Linked DNA regions of Homo sapiens: all the other regions are linked to region 6. Evidence: promoter capture Hi-C in 16 types of primary human blood cells and fetal thymus (Javierre and others, 2016). All regions are on one chromosome and are shown on one strand. The core of a region is centred on a gene start or on the middle of the fragment in contact, and the rest is flanking DNA. Distances in the headings are between cores, read along the strand shown. Region 1 has its middle 1.8 kb from the start of SAMD7. Region 2 has its middle 11 kb from the start of PHC3. Region 3 overlaps PHC3 (polyhomeotic homolog 3). Region 4 overlaps LRRC34 (leucine rich repeat containing 34). Region 5 overlaps LRRIQ4 (leucine rich repeats and IQ motif containing 4). Region 6 holds the start of GPR160 (G protein-coupled receptor 160). Region 7 overlaps LRRC34 (leucine rich repeat containing 34).

Region 1 (2,700 bases), core at 71-2,570, 130 kb before region 6:
AGCCTCCAGCCTGAGGCAGCATCAGGAGACTCAAAGGGCAGTACATGGGCCCTCAACACTCTCTGATACCCCATCCTCCACTTTCCCATCGCCAGGACACGTGTCATCTCACGTGTCATCTTGGGGAAGAAAGGGAGATGAATTAAAAATCCAAAAGAGACAATTTCATCTTGGAAGAGACTATGTTACATGTGAAACATTGTCTCCTTATATTGTTGAATAAGTTGGAATTGACCAGATTTGACTAAATGTAGTCTTCACCTCTTACCCAGAGAGTAGGATTTTGGAGGGATACTAGATCAATTGCAGGAAAGTAAAAAGGCTTTTCTTTGTACAGAGTGTAGGGCGCAAATTTACAACACTCCTGAATGACTAACAAATAATCCCCAAGGCCATTGCTGGTGGCTTATTGTCACCTGTTCCTCTCTTCCGGTGGAGCTTCTTCCAATTAGTCCCAAAATAGCCAGAGACCTGTGGGCCCTCCCACTCCTCCGCACTGTGATCCCTCTCATTTAGTGGGTAATCACCTCCAGAACTGACTGGTTTGTTTGCAACCGGAGGCTGGCTGAGGTGCCCAAGCAGGAGCTGCCTGCCCCCGGCTGCGTTAGGAACTACCCCTTTAGATGTTGCACTGCGGGGAGAGGTTGTCCAGGAGCAACTGGGGTGGGTGAGCAGTTAGGGGCTCAGGGCAGTGGCTATTTTCCAACCGGTGTGGGAAAATGTCAGTATTTTAACAATCGGCATAGCCAGACTGGTATGCACTAACTGAATACAAGGAAGTTCCTACCTTTTCTCTCCCACTTCCAATCAGCCTCAGACTCTAGAAGCCTCTAACTCACCTCATTCCACCTGCCAGAGTTCCTTCTTTAACACAGTCTCAGCCCCACCATCATAGCAGGAGCTTGTGTGGGGAGTAAGAGGAGTAACAACCGCAAGTGAGGGTCTTGGGAACTCACCGGAGCTGAGTCAGGAGTAAATGTCGTTAATGAACCCCACTGATAACACTGATCACATTTTCCAGAGAAACAGAAATATAAATGGTGGCTCTATGTTGGAATGAGTACCGCTGTTACACTGTTAGATTGATGTTTATGGGCTGGTGCAAACCTAATTACTCCTTATGATGTTGCTTCTATGAAAACAATACATTTATAAGTTTCTGTTGAACAATGTATAAGCAAGTCTTTCAGATACAAGCTCTTCTAATATGAGACTACCAGAGTGATTACAAACAAAGTATATGCATTAGGGCGGGGCGCAGTGGCTCACACCTGTAATCCCAGCACTTTGGGAGGCTGAGGTGGGCAGATCACAAGGTTAGGAGATCGAGACCATTCTGGCTAACACGGTGAAACCCCGTCTCTACTAAAAATACAAAAAAAAAAAAATTAGCTGGGCATGGTGGCGGGCGCCTGTAGTCCCAGCTACTCAGGAGGCTGAGGCAGGAGAATGGCGTGAACCCGGGAGGTGGAGCTTGCAGTGAGCTGAGATCACGCCACAGCACTCCAGCCTGGGTGACAGAGTGAGACTCTGTCTCAAAAAAACAAACAAACAACAACAACAAAAAAAAACAAAAACTGTATGCATAAATATTATAAATGCTAATAATTTATGAGACACTTCAAAATGCATATACAACACAAGAAAGACAGTTTAGTAAAAATTAGGGCAAAGGGAAAATAATGTTAGGAAAAATAAGATGAAGCCATAGATCATTTCTGGTTTTAAAATGCATGTCTAGGCTGGGCATGGTGGCTCACGCCTATAATCCCAGTACATTGGGAGGCCGAGGTGGGTGGATTGCTAGAGTCCAGGAGTTCAAGACCAGCCTAGGCAACATGGCGAAAGCCTGTCTCTACAAAAAAATACAGAAAAAAAATTAGCCAGGCATGCGGTCGTGCACCAGTGGTCCCAGCTACTTGGAGGCTACGGTGGGAGGATTGCTTGAGTCTGGGGACATAGAGGCTACAGTGAGCCATGATTGTGCCACTGCACTCTAGCCTGGGTGGCAGAGCAAGAACTTGTCTCAAAAATAAATAAATAAAAATATAATAAAATGCATGCCTAAAGGCAGGTCCTGAACTTCCTACTAACCAACACAAAGAATGCAACACACTAGTTACGTGATTCCTGAGGTTTTATTTTGGCCTTATTTTTCAGAACAACAACAACAACAATAACAACAACAAAACAATTGTCCCTAGTACTACAAGCTGAGAAAAATTCCTCCCATGGATCCTCAACAGAGGACTCTGTGCAATATAGTTACCTAACATAATGGCTAATGTTTAGTGAGAACTATTCAAGCATTTTGTCTACCTTGTTGCCTTCCCTTTCCCAAGAAGGGCTCTTCTGAGATGAGGAAACTAAGGCTCAGAGAAGTTCAGTAACTTGGCCAGGCCATACAGCTAATGAGTGGTGGTGCTGAGGCTTATTGAGTCTGTTGGTCATCTAAGTCCCTGCTGTTGACCACTGCTTTATGAACAATAACCCTGGAATAAATACAGTCAGTTCCACATGCTATTTCTTATAATGAGTTCAACAGCCAATGATAAAAATGTGTGTCAACAAAGGAGCAGGTTACCTTCAAACTGGAAGCCTAAAGCATTACTTGAAACACAACTTAAATTTCTTATATTCAATTCTTATTTTGTACTTCCTACTAGTAAATTACTAGGAATCAAAAAATATGGATGTTCT
Region 2 (2,700 bases), core at 110-2,609, 150 kb after region 6:
TTATTATTATTTTAGACAGAGTCTCGCTCTGTCGCCCAGGCTGGAGTACAGTGGCACGATCTCGGCTCACTGCAACCTCTGCCTCCTGGGTTCATGTGATTATCTTGCCTCAGCCTCAAAAGTAGCTGGGATTACAGGCATGCACCACCATGCCCTGCTAATTTTGTATTTTTAGTAGAGGCGGGATTTCACTATGTTGACCAGACTGGTCTCGAACTCCTGACCTCATGATCCACCCACCTCAGCCTCCCAAAGTGTTGGGATTACAGGCGTGAGCCACCACGCCCAGCAAGAATTTTTTTTTGAGAGGGAGTCTTGCTTTGTCACCCAGGCTGGAGTGCAGTGGCACCATCTCGGCTCACTGCAAGCTCCACCTCCTGGGTTCACGCCATTCTCCTGCCTCAGCCTCCCCAGTAACTGGGACTACAGGCACCCGCCACCACACCCAGCTAATATTTGTATTTTTAGTAGAGACGGGGTTTCACCGTATTAGCCAGGATGTTCTCGATCTCCTGACCTTGTGATCCACCCACCTCGGCCTCCCAAAGTGCTGGGATTACAGGCATGGGCCACCAAGCCCGGCCCATTAAGAATTTTTTTTTAAGGCAGGGTCTCACTCTCTTGCCCAGGCTGGAGTGGAATGGCACGATCATGGCTCACTGCAACCTCAACCTCCCTGGGCTCAGGTGACCCTCCCACTTCAGTGCATCCCACCACACATGGCTAATTTTTGTATTTTTTGTACAGATGGGGCTTCACCATGCTGCCCAGGCTGCTCTTGAACTCCTGAGCTCAAGTCATCTCCCATCTTGGCCTCCCAAAGTGCTAGGATTACAGGCATGAGCCACCACGCCCAACCTAGCCAACGATTTTGTATGTAGCAAAACTAAGTTTCATAAATAAAGGAGAAATAAAATCATTTTCAGACAAACAAATGCTTAGGGAACTTGTCACTACCAGACCAGCCCAACAAGAAATGCTAAAAGCTGTTCTAAATCCTGAAACAAAAGGCTGATATGCACTAGAGTAGAACCTCTTGATGGCATAAAACTCATGGGGCATATAAAACAATAACACAGTGAATAAAACAAAGTATCTAGGTAACAAATAACATGATGACTGGAACAGTACCTCACATCTCTCTTTTTTTTTTTGAGATGGAGTCTCACTCTGGCGCCAGGCTAGAGTACATTGGCACAATCTCGGCTTACCGCAACCTCTGACTCCCTGGTTCAAGCAATTTTCTGCCTCAGCCTCCCGAGTAGCTTGGATTACAGGTGCCTGCCACCATGCTCAGCTAATTTTTGTATTTTTAGTGGAGACGGGGTTTCCCCATGTTGGCCAGGATGGTCTCCATCTCTTGACCTCGTGATCTGCCCGCCTCAGCCTCCCAAAGTGCTGGGATTGCAGGCATGGCCTTTTTGGGTTTTTTTGTTTTTTGCAGGGAGGGGACAGGGTCTTGCTCTGTCACCTGGGCTGGAGTGCAGTGGTACAATCTTGGCTCACTGTAACCTCCACCTCCTGGGCTCAAGTGGGCTTCCCACCTCAGCCTCCTGAGTAGCTGGGACTATAGGTGTGCACCATCACACCCAGTTAAGTTTGTGTGTGTGTGTGTGTGTGTGTGTGTGTGTGTGTGTATTTTTTGTAGAGATGGGGTTTCGCCATGTTGCCCAGGCTGCTCTGGAATTCCTGGGCTCAAGTAATTCTTCCACCTCAGCTTCCCAAAGTGCTAGCATTATAGGTGTGAGCCACCACCATACCCAGCCTCAAATCTCAATATTAATGTTGAATGTAAACAGCCTAAATGCTTCACTTAAAAGATACAGATTGGCAGAATGGGTCTAAAAATTGCAAACCAAATATCTGTTGTCTTCAAGGGACTTATATAACACATAAAGATTCAGATAAACTCAAGGTAAAGGAGTGGATAAAGATATTCCATGCAAATGGAAACCCAAAGCAAGCAGGAGTAGCTATTCTTCTATCAGATAAGATAGACTTTAAAGCAACAACAGCCAGGTGTGGCAGTTCACACCTGCAATCTCAGCCCTTTGGGAGGCTGAGGCAGGAGGATCCCTTGAACCCAGGAGTTCAAGACCAGCCTAGGCAACACAGCAAGACCCTGTCTCTATGAAAAAATTTAAAAATTAGCCTGGTGTGGTGGTGTGTGCCTGCAATCCCAGCTAATGAGGAGGCTGAAGTGGGACAATCACTTGTGTGTCGTAGGTTCAGGCTGCAGTGAGCTGTGATCATCCCACTCTACTCCTGCCTGAGCAATAAAGCCAGACCCTGTCTCAATAAATAAATAAGTAAATAGCAACAACAGTAAAAAAAAAAAAAAAAAGGACAAAGAAGATAATTATATAATGATAAAAGGATCAATCCAACAAGAAGATATTACAATCCTAAATTCATATGTACCAATACTGGAGCTCTAAGATTCATAAAACATTTACTACTGGACCTAAGAAATGAGATAGACAGCAACACAATGATAGTGGGGCACTTCAACACTCCACTCGCAGCATTAGACAGATCATCAAGACAGAAAGTCGGCAAAGAAAAAAATGGATTTAAAACTACACTCTAGAACAAATGGACCTAACGGATATTTACAGAACATTCTACCAGAGAACTGCAGGATAAACATTCTTCTCTTCAGCACGTGGAACATTTTCCAAGACAGATCATATGATAGGC
Region 3 (2,700 bases), core at 135-2,634, 130 kb after region 6:
TGGGAAACTTGGCACAATTTCCCAATATATATGTGCAATATAGCGAATCAGCTTTCTTTTACTCCTTTCTCAAAATAAATTACCCTATCTTGAATGGATACTTGCAAATTGAACCCAAATAACTCATGTAAGCTGAAAGTATAATTTCTAAAATGTGAATTGCACAAAGTTAGAAATGCTTAGATGTCTACCAAGGACATGACATACTATTGTATATCACAGTAAATTCATGGCCAATATCCCTGCATTGTATATTTTAGGCTTTCAATACACACAGAAAGCTGAAACCACATAAGATCTGAACATGATCAGTGCAAATGGATATACAAGAAATAATACAAAAAGATTTTTTTAAGACTCAGATTTTCATAAGTTTAACATTAGTTCTGAATTCTTGAATTTTATCATTTCTATTTCTGGGCAATTGTTACTTTAAACAGCATGCAACAAATTATAATAACAGCTTCATAAATAACAACAGTTTACTTTTGGAAAACAATTCTTTAAAATTTTAAATCCAGGAAAAAAAAATTTAGGGAACTTACAGACGTTTGGGACATACTTGACTGCTGTGTGACACTTCCTGTGGGAGATGTAGATGGTCTTCCACTGGACAAACTTGCCTAAAATAGTAAGACTTTTAGAATATGTCGGTAAAAACCTGAAGTTAAGAACTTTCTGGTACCATGATAACACAAAACCACAACAATAAATGTCAAAAGGCCTATGTATGAAACAACTAATTTTATAGTCAACATGGCTTAAGCTTCGGTTAAACAGATTTTTTAAATAAGGAAAAGCTGAATGGTGAAAACAGGGGATCCAAAGACTAATCTTATTTTATTAGCTACTTTATTGTCAGTTTCACTTTATGGGTCTCTGTCATCTTTAAAGTGGAATCACTACTCCAGAGTTATGAAAAAGAAATTAGAGCTACAGCAAGAGCCAGTGAGTGGGTTTCAGTTTCCTAACTTGTATCACAAACATGTTATTTAAAAATTACACTACTAAGAAGCAACAGCTGAGAATCTGTTGGTAACAGAAATAAACCTTTTTCAGGTTCAGTCAATTGAGATCCTCCTCTGGTGAGGGGATTTAAGATTAAATCTTACACAGCTTTATTTAAATAGTACAATAGTAACAAAAATCTTTTTTAAAAACAAGCATTTAATAATGAAATCCTGTTATCAGTAGGAATAATATGATTGGATTTTAGAAAAATGGATATACCTATCTTTGTATAAAAAATTTCTGGAGAAATATGTATTAGATTGTTACTGTGGCCACCTTTGAAGAACGGGAAACAGTGATAGACAGGGAAAAGGAACAGCTTTACTTTATCTCTTATAAACAACTTAATATTGTTTGATTTTTTAATGAGTATAATTACTTATATAATTTTTTTAATCTTATTTTTAGTAAAAATACAATTTATGTAAGCCTAAGTACTCACTGTTGTACCTAGAACTTTATACACATAAACTAGCATAGCATTTCTTCAATCTGGATAAAAAGCACTGAGACAAAAGCTAGAAACAGAGTAACATAAAAAAACATATCCCCTTTTTCTCAATTAACTTCTATTCGGCAACCTATTAATATATTTCCTCCGGGAAAAATAACCACAGGACATCTGAGAACTCTGAAATAATACCCAATCTATTTATTTTCAGTAACTACCTACAGATAACAGAAACTTTGATCTCATAAACTCTTATTTTAGTCTTACCTGAACAGCAGCAAGGCTCTGAAGCTGGGAGCTGCTTAAATGCTGCTGCTGAAGAGCTGCAGTATGCAGCATCAAGTGCTGTTGTTGGGCTGCATACATTTGCTGAAGGTACTGAGCAGCTGAGCTGGGGGGCCGATGCAATGCCTGTTGAATTACCTGTGATAAGTCAATTGAACCAATGTCAAACCATAATCTCAACCTTTATCTTAATCAGAAAATCAAAGTATAAAAAAGTGGCAGTTTAAAATTTCACTGCTTTAATACATAATATCATCAAGCTTATTAACATTATTTCTTTCCTAGTTACATATCACTAGAAATCACTAACTTGTACACATTAAAACTACCCAGTGGGCCGGGCACGGTGGCTCACGCCTGTTAATTCCAGCACTTTGGGAGGCCGAGGTGGGCGGATCACAAGGTCAGGAGATCAAGACCATCCTGGCTAACATGGTGAAACCCCGTCTCTACTAAAAACACAAAAAATTAGCCAGGCATGGTGGCACATGCCTGTAGCCCCAGCTACTCGGGAGGCTGAGGCAGGAGAATCGCTTGAACCTGTGAGGTGAAGGCTGCAGTTGAGCCAAGATCATGCCACTGCACTCCAGCCTGGGCGACACAGCAAGACTCCCATCTCAAAAAAAAAAAAACAAAACAAAACCCAGTGGACAATTCGCAAAAGACAGGCCAGGCCAACTAAGCATTTCAAAAGATTTTCAATCTCACCAGTAGTCAAAAACTTACAAATTAAAACAAGATACTGTTTTCCAACTTTCAGATGGATAAAGATTTAAAAGAATACTACTACTACCTGGGGAAACCAATACTCCCATATTGCTAGTAAAAATTCAAGTTGGCATAACCTTTTTGGATAAAACTTCGTAGAATTCAGGGCTTGGGTGTGGAGAGAAATACCTTTACCATGCAACCATAACAAATAGTAATGTAGATCAGTGCTGTCCTATACAGTA
Region 4 (2,700 bases), core at 145-2,644, 240 kb before region 6:
CATCTCAGTTCTTTTGGATGCGGAAAACTCTCTGAGGCCCTATCACCTGCAACTCTGCCTCAAGCAGCAGTGTAGGTCAGGTTACAGGTTTACCACCTGCACCCCACTGTAAGCTCAAGGTAAGCCTACTTGCTTCTCCTTCAGCCATCTTCTGAATCTCCCTTTGGGGGAATATGGGAACTTGTGGGTCTCTTCTATAGCACACAGGAAGAGACAGTAGCCTGGGAAATCAAACTCTTTCCAGAATCTGGTAGACATCCTACTACCCAGCATGTGAGGAATACTACAAAGCAATGAAAAGTGAACAGACTACTGCTACATGAAACAACATAAATGAATCATACTAATATAATGTTGAACAAAAGAAGCCAGACACAAAGAGAGTGTATACTGTATGCTTCCATTTATATAAAGGTCAAGAACAGGCAAAACTACTCTGTGGGGTTAGAAGTCAGGATAGTGGTTATGAGAGGAGAGTGGGAGAGCTGGCAGCACTGGCTTGTTGGGAAAGGGGTATGTATATGTTTATATATATTTGCCTGTATTTATGAAATTGTTAGTAACACCTGTCTGTAACACGTAAATAGGATAGGTAGAATACTTTTTCAACTTCTGAACTTTGAAACCCTTTGAAAGTCACTGGTAATTTTCTACCACAAACCTTTTTATTAATACTACTTAATAACTTTCAGTTAGATACCTACAATGACCTTTACTTGTACGCTATTTCACTACTTGGTTATATTTTCATTATAAAAAGAAATTTAGTCTAGTTCCTTGGTCTCTTTCTCCAGGGTTAGAATTTTAGTCTCTATATTGTAAAATTTCTTTTAAAAAATTACCCTACTCAGTTTTTCACAATAGACAGTTATACAAAGTTTAATACAGTCATTATCTTTTACACATTTGAAAAAAGTAACTTGTTTTAATTTATAAAAGAAAATAGGCTATAGAATATTAATCTCTGTGAAACAATAAGACAAGTGTATGAAAATTATTTTACAGCTACTTTTTCATGGCTGTTGACCTACTGGAACAAGAGCAAAACCTGCATTAGATGAGTGGTCATAAGATTCTCCATAAGTTGATGTCCAATAATAATGCTTTTTAAGGCCATTGGAGACTTCTGCAAGATATACACGTCCATCTACCACAAATGGCTCCACATCTGTATTGTCTGGTTTTAGACAACCCATTTGAATTAAGTCTGAATATGCCTAGGATTTTTAGGAAAAAAACTATATCATTAAGAAAAAATGTATTCAATTTACAGTGCTTACGGAAATTTAAATATTCAAATTAGCTGTGCTAATTTGTAGTTTAAAATAAAATATTCTGAATAACATTGCTGAATTTTAATATTTTCCAGGTATTGTAAATAGATTTTTATTCATTTAATTACACAGAATGAAATTATAATATTGCAAAACTTATTTCTAACTTTTAATGTATTAGACATGTTTTGTCATTTTGTGACTCCTAGAGTTGATTTTCTATACTACCAATTTTGTGGACCAAAGCTCCTATGGTCAAAATTTTCAAGTCCCACAGATGTTCATAAATTGGAATAGGTAGGGGGGCTCGGTAGGAGGCCTATTGTATACATTCTCAAAAATCTGCTGATAGCTAGTTACCCATTCCTCAGAAAAATTAAGGGAATCCCAGATTTGGACATACAATTATATAGAGTTCATGACCCCCCTGAATCTAATCTACAGATTTAGGCTAAAACAGACAATTCCATAGTATTGGATGCGGACCTATTAATTATTTCTTCATTGTAGAATTTTTATACTTTTTTTTTTTTTTTGAGACAGAGTCTTGCTCTGTCGCCAAGCTGGAGTGCAGTGGCACGATCTCGGCTCACTGCAACCCCTGCCTCCTGGGTTCAAGAGATTCTCCTGCCTCAGCCTCCCGAATAGCTGGGACTACAGGCCCAGCGCACCACCACACCCAGCTAATTTTTGTACTTTTAGTAGAGATGGGGTTTCACCATGTTGGCCAGGATGGTCTCAATCTCTTGACCTCGTGATCCCCCCGCCTTAGCCTCCCAAAGTGCTGGGATTACAGGCATGAGCCACGATCCTTAGTATCTATGTAACAGAGTCATACAAATACGTTGAACTGGTTTGTCAGTAAGGTTGGCAATATGGAGAAAGATGGAAATTTAGACATTAAAAGATTTAAAAGTCAAGTTGGTTTTTGCTTTAGCTTGTCATTCATCATTAGTTCCAGTTCCAGACTCAACTTATTCAGCTACTGATGTGTAGAACCTAAAGAATTATGGATGTTTTTCTAAAAGTAAGGGTTGGTTTTTTTGGGAGGGTGGTTTAGACAACACTCTATGTTTTATTACTCTTTTTAGTGGTGGAATTTTTGTTAGTCCTTTTGCAAATTTTGAGAATTTTAACATCTACTTTTTCCCCCTCGTTCTTTCCAAATGAAAACTGTTACCATTATTTCTGTTTTGAAAGTAGTATCAAAGGCTGTCTGTATTTATGTGAGCAACATGCCAAATATTTTGATAGCTTGTACTCTATCTCTCCCATTCCATATTTTGGTATAATTATTAGGGAGCAGATCAGAAATTTTGCTACATCTGATCAATAATTATGATTTTTCTTAACCTTAGAGGAATTAGAACTGTGTCATTCAGTGATGTGTAATACTAATACATAGTTTTAATATCTTTGGTTATTT
Region 5 (2,700 bases), core at 26-2,525, 210 kb before region 6:
CTCCACTGATGTAGCAACTCACCTTGGAGGATTTTTGAGGTTCCGTGAGAGCCCGGCCCTGAACTATTCCACTGCTGATGTAAGAAATTCCTTTTAGTGGACTAAGTCAGTCATTCTGCAGTTGGAGTGAAAGACTTAAAATATAAAGTACATGTGGGAGGGATAACACATTATACTGAGCCATGAATAATACCTAATCCTTTTCTGAGAGAAATTTTAAGAAATCAAAGGAGCAAATCACACACAGACTGCTTGTTAACAAAAATAAGCTTCATCCAATACCAAGTTTTAGCACAAGTCAAACTGCACTGAAATGTAGACATGTTAAATATTATTGTATTGAACATGACAATCTCTGTGTACCAGTGCTTTTTCCTCTTCAGTTATTCTGATGGGTTTTGTGTGTGTGTGTGCATTTGTCCTCCCTTCTCAATTTCCTCTTATGCTAATACCACCTTCCAATGCATTTCTCTCCTCAATGAAACATGGCCTTTAAGCCAGCTCATTATCTCTCCCTCCCCAAAGACTCAACTCATGGGTTACTAGCTCTTAAAGCCTAACCAGTAGCTTCTACTTGCCTGTGTGCATGCAAAAAATATCTGATTTTCAATGTGTACCTAGATGGATTTTATTTGTAGAGTATACTTCTATTAAAGGAGAAAAGCAGGCCACGTGCGGTGACTCACGCCTGTAATCACAACACTTTGGGAGGATGAGGCGAGTGGATCAACTGAGGTCAGGAGTTTGAGACCAGCCTGGCCAACGTGGCGAAACCCCATCTCTACTAAAAATACAAAAATTAGCCGGGCATGGTAGTGGGCACCTGTAATCCCAGCTACTCGGGAGGTTGAGGCAGGAGAATCGCTTGAACCCAGGAGGCAGAGGTTGCAATGAGCCAAGATTGTACCATTGCCGTCCAGCCGAGGCAAGAAGAGTGAAACTCCGCCTCAAAAAAAAAAAAAGAAAAAGAAAAAGGAAAAAACCAAAACAATGTACCAGATCCCAAAATGGCTATATGTCAGTTACAGTGTCATCAGTAATTGTCCTCATCTAATGCTCTACAGATTTTCTATACATCTAGATTTCTTCTCATTATACTTTACTATGACTATGATGAAACTAACTACTGGATCTTAAATACTCCTAAAAAAAATTTTTGAACATTCAATGTGCTTTGAAAAAGAAAAGCTAAGCTTTTATGAGTTAAGTGAACAGCAATAAGAATGAAATTTCTAGGTTATAATAAAATGGTTAGATTGAAAAATCTTTTTTCATTGTTTTGGACTGCACAGAATGCAGGCATTTTGTATTGAAGACATCTAAGTGCTTGATGAAGAATTTTGAAATAGCCAAAGAGGAAAGCTTAAACATCAGTTTCTCCAAAGATTGACTTCATCTAATTAAAATAAATAGGTAAATAAATAAAACTGGAAAACTGTTACAGCATTTTTAGGAAAATGAGTCCTTACTCTACACAAAAAAGAGAAAAATGCATTATGGAAGATTCCAAGTATGTGAAACTTTTACAGATAGGTTGTCCTCAGTGAACTTTCTTTTTCTCCAACTGTAAGTGACCCATTCACCAATTACCTGTCTATTCCACCCATCCATAGAGAGGTGGGGGTGGGAGTGGCTCAGCTGAGCTCTAGCCAGAATGAAAGTAGGGTGGCTGACTAGGGAATGGATGGGAAGAATGCCCATGGGCTCAAGCAGGGAACTGTGGGGAAGGATTTCCCAGTTAGGAATTAAGCCAGATAAAGGAACATATGAGTTAAGGAGCTGTTGAGCTATATAGCTGGGATTTTTTTCTACGAGAAAATAAGGCATCTCTGTAACACAGTCAATAGGGTGATTGTCACATATTTTAAGAATGAGATTTTTTCGCCGGGTGCGGTGGCTCATGCCTGTAATCTCAGCACTTTGGGAGGCCTAGGCGGGCGGACCACGAGGTCAGGAGATCGAGACCATCCTGGCTGACATGGTGAAACCCCGTCTCTACTAAAAATACAAAAAATTAGCCGGGCGTGGTGGTGGGCGCCTGTAGTCCCAGCTACTCGGGAGGCTGAGGCAGGAGAATGGCGTGAACCCGGGAAGCGGAGCTTGCAGTGAGCCGAGATCGCGCCACTGCACTCCAGCCTGGGCGGCAGAGCGAGACTCCGTCTCAAAAAAAAAAAAAAAAAAAAAAAAGAGATTTTTTTCCCATGTGGTCTCCCATGGTCCAGAAAGAAACCGATAGACGGACATAATGGTGAAGCTGATTTTGGCTGTACTAAAGTAGGAAATCTGATGATTAGAAGTAGCCATAGAAGATAATGAGCTTTTCTTCACAGGAGGTGGTGTTTAGATAAAACTGGATGGCTCGCTATAAAAAGTATGCAAGCACTGTATTAGAAGGTTGAAATAGAGAACCTTCTTAAGGCGTTCCAGCCCTGAAAGTGTGGCACTCTGTGAAATGCCGACCCAGTTCCCACACAGGTTACACAAGCCTGGGTATTCACTGAAAAGCAGAACATGACACGATAGGATCATAATGGAGTTCACTGAACACTGATTAGAAATGGTGTGAATATATGTTTGCCTCCAACTGAGATTTCAACTGAAGTTTCAAAATTATTAAAGCCTTTTAGGATGAAGAGTCATATCACTAAATTTATTAGTTCCAATAACTGAATTTATAATGAATATTATTATTGCAATATT
Region 6 (2,700 bases), core at 58-2,557:
ACACTCAGAGAGGTTGAGAGGCTCAGGACACTCCCCTTGTTCAAGGCTCTGCGTGAAGAGGAGAAGGAAGAAATTGTGCAATATTTTATTTTATTTTATTTGTTTCAGATGAAGTCTGTCTCTGTTGCCCAGGCTGGAGTGTAATGGCGTGATCTTGGTTCACTGCAACCTCTGCCTCCTGGGTTCAAGTCATTCTCCTGCCTCAGCCTCCCAAGTAGCTGGGACTACAGGCATGTGCCATTACGCCCAACTAATTTTTGTATTTTTAGTAGAGGCAGGGTTTCACCATGTTGGCCAGGCTGGTCTTGAACTCGTGACCTCAAGTGATCCACCCGCCTCGGCCTCCCAAAGTGCTGGGATTACAGGCTTGAGCCACTGCGCTGGCCTAATTGTTCGATATTTTAAATGTTTAAATGACCGGCAAGTCGTAGGTGCTCAACAAATATTTGTTGAATGACAACAAATTAGCACTGTTGACACAAAAAAGGCAATGCAATATATGGGCTATTTAATATTTGCAGATTTTTATTTAAAAATCTGAATTCACAGTACACTGCAGGCGGTTGCTTAGAAGCATACAAGTTTCAAGAAGTTCTGTCACCCTGTGTATACTCTTTTTTTTTTTTTTTTTTTTTTTTTTTTTTTTTTTTGATACGGAGTCTTGCTGTTGCTGCCCAGGCTGGAGTGCAGTGGTGCGGTCTTAGCTCACTGCAACCTCCGCCTCCTGGGTTCAAGCGATTCTCGTGCCTCAGCTTCCCAAATAGCTGGGATTACAGGTGCGTGCCACCAAGCCCGGCTAATTTTTGTATTTTTAGTAGACATGGGGACCAACGTGGACCATGTTGGCCAGGCTGGTCTCAAACTCCTGACCTCAAGTGATCCGCCCACCTTGACCTCCCAAAGTGCTAGGATTACAGGCATGAGCCACCGCCTGGCCACCCTGTGTAAACTCTTATCTGGAGACAACTGCCAAGTTTACATTTGCAGAGGTAAGGGAAGGAGAGGCCCTGACCCAGTGGCCCCCGCTCGCCCGCCTGCTGGGGAGATGGGGAGCTCCTAGGACAGGGGCCGGGTCCTCAAGATGTGGCATGAGGAAGGGGGTCTCACTGAGCCCCCAAGCGGCTCCCGCACTGCGCACCCCTGGCTGCGTCCCTCTGCCAGCCTCAACTCAGCCCTCTCCTAGCCGGCGGGGGGTGACAGTCTCTGTGATATCTTTCCGTCCCGCCGGCAGGCGGCGCCCTCCGGCCCTTGTTTCGTTGGGCCCGGACGGGACGTGCGCGCTCAAAGGTTGCCCGTCTCTGACGCCCGCATTTCCTGGTCTGGAGCCGGCTGAGCCACAGCAGGGTCGCCGCGGGGTCCCGGGGCCGTGCTCCCCTGCCCCTCCCGGGAGCGCGCGGGGCGGGGCGGGGCGGGGCGGGACCAGGCGGGCGAGCTGGGCCCTCGCCCCTCCCTCGGGCGGTCACCTGGGCACGGGCGCTGCAGGTGTCGGGGCCTCAACCTTGCGGAGCCGACAGCCATCGATCCTCGGGTGAGTGCGGGCGCAGGTGGAGGGCGCCCGGCGCTCTCGCCACCGGCGTCCCAGCCTCGGGGCGGCGAACGGTCCCCGCGCCGCTCCCAGCCTCCCTGGCCGGGCGTTCAGCGCGCCTGGGAGGGGAAGGAATTTCCTTTGCAGGAACTCAGGGGCTGGGGGTTCTCTGCTACTTAAGAGATCCAGGAGTGGAGCCCGGACGCCCGAGCCTTCCTGCTTCGGGATGGGGATTACCGCGGAGCCTTAGCAACTGGGGTCTGTCGTGGGTTTGAGGGCAGGGGGTCTGGGGAATGGGCGTGTCCCGCACCCAGAGACTCGCCACCCTCTCTCCAGGGGAGATGCTTTTTAAACATGACAAACCCAGCAAGGTTATAGAAATGGGTGTATGCAACTCTTCGCTCTTTCCTGGCGCCCAGAGGTGAATAGTCTCACACACACGCGCGCGCGCGCGCGTGCGTGCATTCATTGGGGCCGACTTTGCCTCCCCTCCCCTGGCCTCGAGCGTTGGGGACGGCGCCCCCGCCCGCGCCCGCCACTGGGATTAAGCCCCAGGGCCTTGCCCGGCTATTTGTTTTCCGAGGCCGTTGCGTCCGGGTAGGTTCCTGGATGACCATCCTGGCTGGCTCAAAATTCCCTCTAGATTACCTGCGACCACCCCCAGGAACCCGGAGACTGAAACTCCTTTTCTCACCTGCGCAGGTGGCCTCGAGGTGGTGGCAGGGCCGCCCCCTGCAGTCCGGAGACGAACGCACGGACCGGGCCTCCGGAGGCAGGTTCGGCTGGAAGGAACCGCTCTCGCTTCGTCCTACACTTGCGCAAATGTCTCCGGTAAGGGGAAGTGTCGCTTAAATCCCAGAGATAACCCCCACCGAGAAGCATCACAAAAGACATGAACGAGTGTTTAGCTCTCAGGATTGTTATTGCTTCGAGTGAAATGGTTTCTTGTGTGCTTTTGTGCATTTATATATAAATATAAACATATATGTATACATTTGACAAGCTCTAAGACCGGCACTTGTGATATCTCCAGAATAGAGTTATTATAGTTATTTGGAAATTGTCAGTGAGGATCAGCTTGGTTGCTATGCGAATTGCAGGGAGGAGGACCTGTGTGCAGTTTCAAAACGATTTAAGAGAAATTCGGTGGCAATACAAGGTGTGGACGTTGGTTG
Region 7 (2,700 bases), core at 201-2,700, 230 kb before region 6:
ACAGGGACTCAAGGTTTCTTTTTTTTTTTTTTTTTTTTCAACTCAGTATCTCAGCATCCACGAGAGGAAAAGGTTTCTTAAAATAGCTTCACATAAAAACAATTTTATCTAATAACCTAACTCAAAAGGGATCTGATAAAGCACCTACTCCCACAAGCTTCTTGGATACCCTCTACACCATCCCAAGTTTGAATGTAACTGTCATTTCTTCATACCAAATCGAGGCCTGGCTCACAGAAGCTCTTCTCCTACCCAGCCTTCCATTTCCTCTTTCTAAAGGTGACTTTTCCCTAAGTTCTTAAGAAGACAGACACAAAGCAGGAGTTGAGATCTCCTTTCTGTTATACATGCAGATTTCCTTAATGACCTTGCTGTTCTCAGTAATACCTCAAAAGCATCTTCTGCAAGGCCTACATCTTCTGGGGTGGAAGTTATGCTGTTACTTTTCTTAGAAGTACAGGCCACTGTCTTTGTTTTCTATACATCTACCTTTTGTGGATGTCTTTTAAAAATTTGTGCACAGAGATCTCATTGCTCAACCAGCCTAGCTTTTTAGGAGCTGGCTTCTCTTCTAAGTCTCTACATCTCAGAAATGTTGTTTACTGAGTGTCCTTTGCACTCTGAAGAATAATGAGTTTGCTAAACGGATCTGCAGAACGAGATTTAACATGAGGAACATTACATTTCAGATGAAAGCAAACAAAATTTTCTTATAGTTTTTAATAACCTTTTTAAAAATAAATTTAATATACTTATTCCAGACAATTTGGAAATTTCTTTTTTTTTTTTTTTTGAGATAGGTTCTTGATCTGCCACCCAAGCTGGAGAGCAGGAGCGCAATCTCGGCTCACTGCAACCTCTGCCTCCCGGGTTCAAGCGATTCTCCTGCCTCAGCCTCCCGAGTAGCTGGGACTACAGGCACACACCACCACACCCAGCTATAAAGACGGGGTTTCACCATGTTGGCCAGGCTGGTCTCAAACTCCTGACCTCAAGTGATCAGCCTGCCTCAGCCTCCCAAAGTGCTGGGATTACAGGTGAGCCACTGAGCCCGACCGGAAATTTCTAACATTAAAAAAAAATACATGTTAATCTGCAATCCCACTGCCAAAGAACAACCACAATTGAGGTCTAGGCATACATACTTCCTATAGTTTTTCTTTTATATGCATATTAAGTATTTTTTAAACAAAATTGGAATCTTTGGATATAACTTTATATGCTGTTTTTTAAATTAACATTATATTGTAAGCAGTTTTCCCATGTCACTAGATATTCTCTGAAAAATTTAAATAGCATAATTTCTGTCATGTGGATAGATGTACGTATTAAAAAAAGCTTCACCTATTTTAGAAAATTTTCATGTATTTAAATGATATTGTAGCACAATATTTCCCAAACTGTATTTTGTGGAATATGCATGTTCTACAGGATGATCAAAGGTGTTCCAAATAGAATAGGTCTTATTATCAAGTAAGTCTGAGAAGTACTAAAATAAACAAAACTATACACAGACACAACACTTCTCAGGGCATTTAAAACGTGCACACTCTGCAAACTGTTAAGCTTGAGAATAGGGAGGATAAGAATGCTGCATTTCCGGCCGGGTGCGGTGGCTTACGCCTGTAATCCCAGCACTTTGGGAGGCCGAGGCGAGCGGATCACTTGAGGCCAGGAGTTCGAGACCAGCCTGGCCAATATGGTGAAACCCTATCTCTACCAAAAATACAAAAATTAGCTGGTGTGGTGGCGCATGCCTGTAGTCCCAGCTACTTCGGAGGCTGAGGCGACAGAATCGCTTGAATGCGGGAGGTGGAGGTTACAAGGTTGCAGTGGGCAGAGATCGCGCCACTGCACTCCAGCCTGGGCGACAGAGGAGACTCCATCTCAAAAACAAAACAAAACAAAAACCTCACTTGGAATGCAATCTAGAAAATGCTGCTTTAGCGTCCTCCCCAGGAAACAAAGCAAGTAGATCCCAAATAGAAGTTGGAGCTGGGCTCCCACTGGGCTTCTTTCTTCCCTACTGTCTTCCTTGGTATTAAGAGAAAAATTGCCCTGAGAATCTCCGAGGGCACAGAAATGTGTCAGACTACAATTCATTTTCGCGAAGGCATGAAGGAATCTTAGACTACGAGCTAAATACAGCTAAACAAAGTTATGGAAATATTCTTATTTAACAAGCTAGCCAGAGATTTACAGTATTTAAAAGTTTCTGCTACCCTTCCTTTGATTTAAAATTCACCTACGTATTTTGTATGCCAGGATTTTGTGGCACCAATGAATTTATTTCCTATATTGTATTCATATTAGAAGGAAAATAGCCTTCAAATTGTAAAGCAAAAACTAGGAAATAACCCAGCTACGCAGGAAAATGTCAAGAACCTAACCCAAATTTCATTTTTTCATCCACGCCTCTGGCAGCCACGTTTTAACAATTTCCAGAGAGAGGACTTACTTAGGAGGTAGATCCCTCCAAAACATGCTTTTCTATACTTAGCCAAGCACTGGGAAATCTAAGCGATAAGCATGAGTCAGAACGTGGGTGCCCTATCCAGAATCCGCAGTGTGTACATTTGAACAAGTTGTTATGCCAGCTTAAATTTCCTCTCATGCTAAAGGCAGAGCCTAACACTGCCCATCTCCTGGATGCAGTATTATTAAGCCAGCCTCCGAACACAGTTCCGTATCCACAAACAG

The links. Contacts are between HindIII fragments. The CHiCAGO score rates a contact against its expected background, and 5 or more counts as called.
Region 1: a fragment that was not itself captured here is called in contact with the fragment with the promoter of GPR160 in region 6 in 1 of 17 cell types (total B cells); the score reaches 6.8 in total B cells.
Region 2: a contact is called between a fragment that was not itself captured here and the fragment with the promoter of GPR160 in region 6, in 1 of 17 cell types (neutrophils). The highest score is 6.3, in neutrophils.
Region 3: a fragment that was not itself captured here is called in contact with the fragment with the promoter of GPR160 in region 6 in 6 of 17 cell types (neutrophils, total B cells, naive B cells and 3 more); the score reaches 8.1 in neutrophils.
Region 4: a contact is called between a fragment that was not itself captured here and the fragment with the promoter of GPR160 in region 6, in 2 of 17 cell types (total B cells and naive B cells). The highest score is 7.1, in total B cells.
Region 5: a contact is called between a fragment that was not itself captured here and the fragment with the promoter of GPR160 in region 6, in 11 of 17 cell types (total B cells, naive B cells, erythroblasts and 8 more). The highest score is 13.1, in total B cells.
Region 7: a fragment that was not itself captured here is called in contact with the fragment with the promoter of GPR160 in region 6 in 7 of 17 cell types (total B cells, naive B cells, naive CD8 T cells and 4 more); the score reaches 12.4 in total B cells.

The regions. Positions count from the first base shown.
Region 1 is chr3:169,908,418-169,911,117 of GRCh38, forward strand. No RefSeq gene overlaps it. Among named protein-coding and RNA genes, the nearest start is that of SAMD7, 1.8 kb to the right of the region's middle. The HindIII fragment of the contact is 3,064 bases long and covers 1-2,700 here.
Region 2 is chr3:170,191,472-170,194,171 of GRCh38, forward strand. No RefSeq gene overlaps it. Among named protein-coding and RNA genes, the nearest start is that of PHC3, 11 kb to the left of the region's middle. The HindIII fragment of the contact is 3,214 bases long and covers 1-2,700 here.
Region 3 is chr3:170,170,828-170,173,527 of GRCh38, forward strand. PHC3 (polyhomeotic homolog 3) reads right to left here. Exons shown (of 15, transcript NM_024947.4): 3 at 1,730-1,885; 4 at 546-623. Among named protein-coding and RNA genes, the nearest start is that of PHC3, 9.6 kb to the right of the region's middle. The HindIII fragment of the contact is 1,241 bases long and covers 765-2,005 here.
Region 4 is chr3:169,792,622-169,795,321 of GRCh38, forward strand. LRRC34 (leucine rich repeat containing 34) reads right to left here. Exons shown (of 11, transcript NM_001172779.2): 11 at 382-1,217. The coding sequence ends at 1,014. Among named protein-coding and RNA genes, the nearest start is that of LRRIQ4, 19 kb to the right of the region's middle. RefSeq lists an enhancer at 1,664-1,808 and a cis regulatory region at 1,736. The HindIII fragment of the contact is 5,168 bases long and covers 1-2,700 here.
Region 5 is chr3:169,825,444-169,828,143 of GRCh38, forward strand. The region is part of intron 2 of LRRIQ4 (leucine rich repeats and IQ motif containing 4); the gene reads left to right. Among named protein-coding and RNA genes, the nearest start is that of LRRC34, 14 kb to the left of the region's middle. The HindIII fragment of the contact is 169 bases long and covers 1,192-1,360 here.
Region 6 is chr3:170,036,688-170,039,387 of GRCh38, forward strand. It overlaps GPR160 (G protein-coupled receptor 160), which reads left to right and starts at 1,308. Exons shown (of 4, transcript NM_014373.3): 1 at 1,308-1,528; 2 at 2,228-2,356. RefSeq lists silencers at 1,283-1,762, 2,073-2,122, 2,283-2,332 and an enhancer at 2,188-2,687. The HindIII fragment of the contact is 12,490 bases long and covers 1-2,700 here.
Region 7 is chr3:169,809,182-169,811,881 of GRCh38, forward strand. All of the region lies in intron 1 of LRRC34 (leucine rich repeat containing 34), which reads right to left. Among named protein-coding and RNA genes, the nearest start is that of LRRIQ4, 2.3 kb to the right of the region's middle. The HindIII fragment of the contact is 228 bases long and covers 1,337-1,564 here.